2 separate regions of the Homo sapiens genome follow, and region 1 is linked to region 2. Evidence: promoter capture Hi-C in human tissues and cell types (Jung and others, 2019). All regions are on one chromosome and are shown on one strand. The core of a region is centred on a gene start or on the middle of the fragment in contact, and the rest is flanking DNA. Distances in the headings are between cores, read along the strand shown. Region 1 overlaps ZP2 (zona pellucida glycoprotein 2). Region 2 holds the start of DNAH3 (dynein axonemal heavy chain 3).

Region 1 (2,700 bases), core at 110-2,609, 55 kb after region 2:
TGCCATTTGTTGCTTCTAGATCAATTCCATTGTCATGCAGCTGGCTCACATCAATGTTCTGGTTTTCAAAGCTCACAGACTTAAGCTTCCCAGGAAACTCTGGTATGGTGAGAGTCATGTGTGTGGCATTGCAGGTCACAGGATCTAGAAGGAATGACAACAGAATGCCCATTACCAGCCTTGATTAAGCTTCTAGGACAATGTCTCCCACACTGAGGTTGCAGCTATCTGGGACCTTACCTGGTGCACAAATAGCTTGTGAAGAGAAGATCACCTTCTGTCCAGGAGATATAAATGTAAGCTTCAGAGACACCATGTAGAGATGACTGTTACCTTGCTAGGGGGAGAAATAACAGTGATCTTCAAAAACATTGGTTACTTGAATCTCTAACCAGTAAGAATCATCTTGGCAAGTATATATCCAAGTAATGGGCACTACTTTGACACAAGTAGGATTTAAGCATTTGTCTAATGACTAATTTGTCTAATCTGGAGGTATATTAGTTTTAACCTTGTTCTAACATCTGGAAGAATGTTGTCTAGATCACCTGTAGCCAATGACTTCTAGGCAGATAAGATCTGTCCTTACCCCATATGACTATTTTAAAGTATCAGCAGCCAGACAATGTTTTCAAGCCTCAATCCATTTGTGTTCTTACTGGGAGATAGGACTGTTCTTGAAGTGGTTGGCATTTGAGCACTTACATCTCAGGACCTGTCCTAAGTACTTTAGGAGATTAATTCATTTAGTGCAGTGTTCAGACTATTGGCCTGGAAAGCACCAATACTTGCTATAAAACAATATAGGACAATGACAACCCAAACAGAACCCCTTAACCCATAAAGCTTTCAGGAATATGCTTGTTCTGTGTTGTACTATAGATTTAAGACTATGGGAAAGAGACTAGATTGAGGTAAGGATTATGTATTTTTGAGAAATGGTCTCGCTCTGTCGCCCAGGCTGGAGTGCAGTGGTACAATCTCGGCTCACTGCAACTTCTACCTCCTGGGTTCAAGCGATTCTCCCACCTCAGCCTCCTGAGTAGTTGGGATTATAGGCATGTACCATCTCACCCAGTTAAGTTTTTGTGTTTTTAGTAGAGACAGGGTTTCACTAAACAGACAGGGTTGGCCGGGCTGGTCTTGAACTCCTGACCTCAAGCGATCTGCCCGCTTCAGCCTTCCAAAGTGCTGGGATTACAGGTGTGAATACCCAGCGAAGTGTTTGGCACTTAATAGGCATTAAAATGGGTTGTATTATAAATTAATGTGAAGACATGGTTGAGATCATGCTTCAATTTAGGAATACTGGCCTGTGCTTTGGTGGTACAAAGCCAGACTTCCACACCTACCACATAGTGAGTCACTCCAGTGGCATTGAATGGCACATGGAAGGTCATCCTGTGGTTGTCAATCAAGAGGCTGAAGCCTTCCTTCATGGCCTCTGGCAGGGTCAGAGTTTTGGCTCTTGCACCATCACCAACCTCAATGCTCCATCCCATCTGAACTTTGGTCCCCTGAAGTCAAAAAGCTTTGTTTAGAGGGCTGGTGCTCCCTTAACCAAGTCTCTGGTAGTCTAACAATTTATCAGGTTAAAGGTAATATCACCTTTAACATAGAATTAAAGGTTATTAAGGTCTGATTTTTAAAATTTGCTTCATACCTTACTGTCGTCAGCCAAGCCAGAGAAGACCCGTGGCAAGGAAAACTGGAAGAAAAGAATTGTGATGTAAGACTTTGATTTGGAGGTAGATGTTTCCGAATTCATGCCAGAAATTGCTGTGTGGTTGTCATACCAAAAGGCCTGCTGTGGGATGCAGTGGAAGAAGCACATGAACCCTGACTGTGCCCTTAGATGTCATTATACTTCTTTGAACTTCTGATCCCAAGAGGCAGCTGGAAGATCTAAGCTCCTTTCCAGTTGTAAGTTGGGACACATTTCTCCCCCCAAGATAGAGTTTCGCTCATCGCCCAGGCTGGAGTGCAATGGTGCAATCTCGGCTCCCTGCAACCTCCGTCTCCTGGGTTCAAGCGATTCTCCTGCCCCAGCCTCCCAAGTAGCTGGGATTACAGGAATGTACTACCATACCCGGCTAGTTTTTTGTATTTAGTAGAGATGGGTTTTCACCATGTTGGTCAGGCTGGTCTCAAACTCCTGACCTCAGGTGATCCACCTACCTCAGCCTCCCAAATTGCTGGGATTACAGGCATGAGCCACCATGCCTGACCAGGACAATGTTCTTAAACGTTTGCCCTTTCACCAATGTCCATAGAAATCAGGTACTATGTAAAAGCCATGCAGTTCTATCATTGTTATTGAGTTGCTTTTATGTCAGTGTTATTTTTAGTTGTCCATTGTTGACATTAGCCATGTTAGACTCTAAACCCATGAAGATGTGACTGGGTCGTTTTGTTCACTTATTGTATCTTAGCATCTAGGGTAGGGCCTGGAACATGGCATGTATTCCATTTGTCAGATGATTAGTGTGAGTGCAACTACCAATAAAACCCTATTGCCATGCATGATGTGCCAAGTACCATGTATATACCCTCAGTAAATTCTTAGAGCCACCCTGAGGTAAGCATTATTGTCCCATCACTTTGGACTTGGAAACAAAGCCTCAGGGTAAAGTTAAACCTCATCACACAGAAAATTAGCAAGTACAGGATTAAATCATGGTCTGATTTCTAAGCCCCGCC
Region 2 (2,708 bases), core at 18-2,517:
AAAAATATAGATTCCAGGGCCCCACTCCAAATCTTCTGGATCGGAATCTAGGAGTGGGGGACCAAGACTCTATGTTTTTAAGATGCTCCCCAGAATATTCTAATGTTCAGCCACAGTCAAAAACTGATGGTTGGAATATATGGTCTAATGGGCTTGGAAGGGAAGGAAAGGGAAGAACGGGTGTCTATTCCCGGATTTTTCACAGCAAAACTTGAAGATTTCCAAAAGTCTAATTCAGCAAAAATGATATTTCAAAGCAGACAACAAAAAAATGTGATGAATACACTTGTTCAGTCAAGGGCATCTAACATGCCAATTGGCCCTCTTCCCACATATTCCCAACACATTAAAAATACAGGTAAATCGGCCAGACACGGTGGCTCACACCTGTAATCCCAGCACTTTGGGAGGCTGAGGCAGGCGGATCTCCTGAGATCGGGAGTTCAAGACCAGCCTGACCAACATGGATAAACCCTGTCTCCACTAAAAATACAAAATTAGCCAGGTGTGGTGGCACATGCCTGTAATCCCAGCTACTCAGGAGGCTGAGGCAGGAGAATCACTTGAACCCAGGAGGCGGAGGTTGCAGTGAGCCGAGATCACACCATTGCACTCCAGCCTGGGCAACAAAGAGCAAAACTCTGTCTCAAAATAAAAAATAAAAAAAAAAAATACAGGTAAAACAAGAAACGTCTTAAAATTCACACCTACCTTCTGAGATGAGCAATCCATGTCACCCATGGTGTCCACTCTAATTGTAGCTATTTTTTTAAAATGAATAAAGAGCTTTCAGCTTCTCCAGGGATGTGCCTCTCCTATCCAGTTGGTCTGAAATTCACACTTCCTTATAGCATAATGGGGATGACACCAACAATGGAACTTTCCAGATGTTCTGAAAGCTCTGTTCATGAGGTTGCCTCTCTGAGGTCATAGACTTTGGCCCGCTGAGGAGTTCCCTGGTAAAAAAGGAGAGAAAGGGAAGCTAGAGATAAGGGGACAGCACTGGGTTTCTGCTGCGCTTTTGGCTCTGGTTCCTAGTCCCCCAGCGGTGGCCACGCTTCCTTTCCCTTGAGTGCTTCTCTCTTGGAAATTTTCCAGAAACACACTGAGTTCACTGCAGAGGAAAGACTGAAGCAGAGTTACACATTAATACAGAGAAGAGGGAGACTCACCCCTCCAAACAACATCCTGGCAGCCCGAACTGTTCTCCCTCCTCCTCCCTGGACTCTTAACACTGGCAGTGCTTGTATGCAGGCGCTGGGCACAGTAACCATGTCTCAGCGTCTGTTGCTAAGGGAAGGAGGGGCCTCTGCGGTGCCTACATACAAGACTGGGCATGACCTAGCTCTGTGAGCTGGTGTCTCCCTTTGCTGGAGGCCCAGGTGGGCAGCAGGAAGTGTTGGTGACAGAAGGGAACATGGGAAGGTGTTTAGCAATGTTCCAGGAATAACAGAGGCAACAGCAATAAAAGACCTTTGGAGACGTCGAAAAGCACAGAGTATGGTGGTTAAGTTCTTGGGATCTACAATTGGACAGGTCATACTTCAGATCCTACTCTTCTCATTAATTAGCTGTGTGGCTTGGCAAGTTGTTTAATCTCTCCAAGTGTCCTTTCCGTCTGTAAAATGGCAATAATGTGAGTCCCTACTTCATAGGGTTGCTTTGAAGGGTTAACGGGATAACGTGTACAGAGCGATTTGCATATAGTAGAAGGATAACTGATATTTTCCCAGTTTTTCCCCGTTTTTTTTTTTTTTTTTGAGACAGAGTCTTGCTCTGTTGCCCAGGCTGCAGTGCAGTGGCGTGATCTCAGCTCACTGCAAGCTCTGCCTCCCGGGTTCACACCATTCTCCTGCCTCAGCCTCCCACCAGTGCGCCCAGCTAATTTTTTGTATTTTTAGTAGAGACGGGGTTTCACCGTGTTAGCCAGGATGGTCTCAATCTCCTGACCTCGTGATCCGCCCACCTCGGCCTCCCAAAGTGTGGGATTACAGGTGTGAGCCACTGCGCCCAGCCCAGTTTTTCCCCATTTTAACACTAAGTCCTGCATCCTGGGAGCAATCTCAGTCCTGGGCAAACTGGGATAGTTTGATCACCCAACACAGTCAATGCTCTATAAATGTTGTGGCTAACATCAATATTACGATAAACACAGAAATACATGTGCACATACTCAAAAGTAACAATATTAGCTGCCGCCCGAATATTAAAAGCACATGTTCCATGGTCACTGTGAAGTTCTCTCAAAACCAAGTTAGACTTAATGAGTTTTTTGGGGGTGCCATGCTTGCATATCTTTTTTTTTCATTCAATTTCCCCCCAAACACCACGATATTCCCATTTTAAGGATAAGGAATCAAAACTGAGAGATATGGGCCAGGTATGGTGGTTCATGCCTGTAATCCCAGCACTCTGAAAGGCTGAGGTGGATGGATCACTTGAGGTCAGGAGTTTGAGACCAGCTTGGCCAACATAGTGAAACCCCATCTCTACTAAAAATACAAAATTAGCCGGGCATGGTGGTAGTCGCCTGTAATCCCAGCTACTTGGGGGGCTGAGGCAGGAGAATCGCTTGAACCTGGGAGGGAGGTTGCAGTGAGCACAGATCATGCCACTGCACCCCAGCCTGGGCAACAAGAGCGAAACTCCATCTCAAAAAAAAAGAAAAACAAACAAAAAAACTGAGAGATACATAACTTTCCTAAGTC

The links. The method cuts DNA at HindIII sites, captures the fragments that hold promoters and counts their contacts. A contact is called where the count stands out against the background at its distance.
Region 1: a contact is called between a fragment that was not itself captured here and the fragment with the promoter of DNAH3 in region 2, in 1 of the 25 tissues and cell types used here (aorta).

Annotation. Positions count from the first base shown.
Region 1 is chr16:21,204,068-21,206,767 of GRCh38, forward strand. It overlaps ZP2 (zona pellucida glycoprotein 2), which reads right to left. Exons shown (of 19, transcript NM_001376232.1): 6 at 1,664-1,708; 7 at 1,353-1,517; 8 at 241-337; 9 at 1-144. Among named protein-coding and RNA genes, the nearest start is that of ZP2, 6.2 kb to the right of the region's middle. The HindIII fragment of the contact is 3,204 bases long and covers 1-2,700 here.
Region 2 is chr16:21,149,579-21,152,286 of GRCh38, forward strand. It overlaps DNAH3 (dynein axonemal heavy chain 3), which reads right to left and starts at 1,268. Exons shown (of 62, transcript NM_001347886.2): 1 at 1,173-1,268; 2 at 712-956. The coding sequence starts at 741. The HindIII fragment of the contact is 16,051 bases long and covers 1-2,708 here.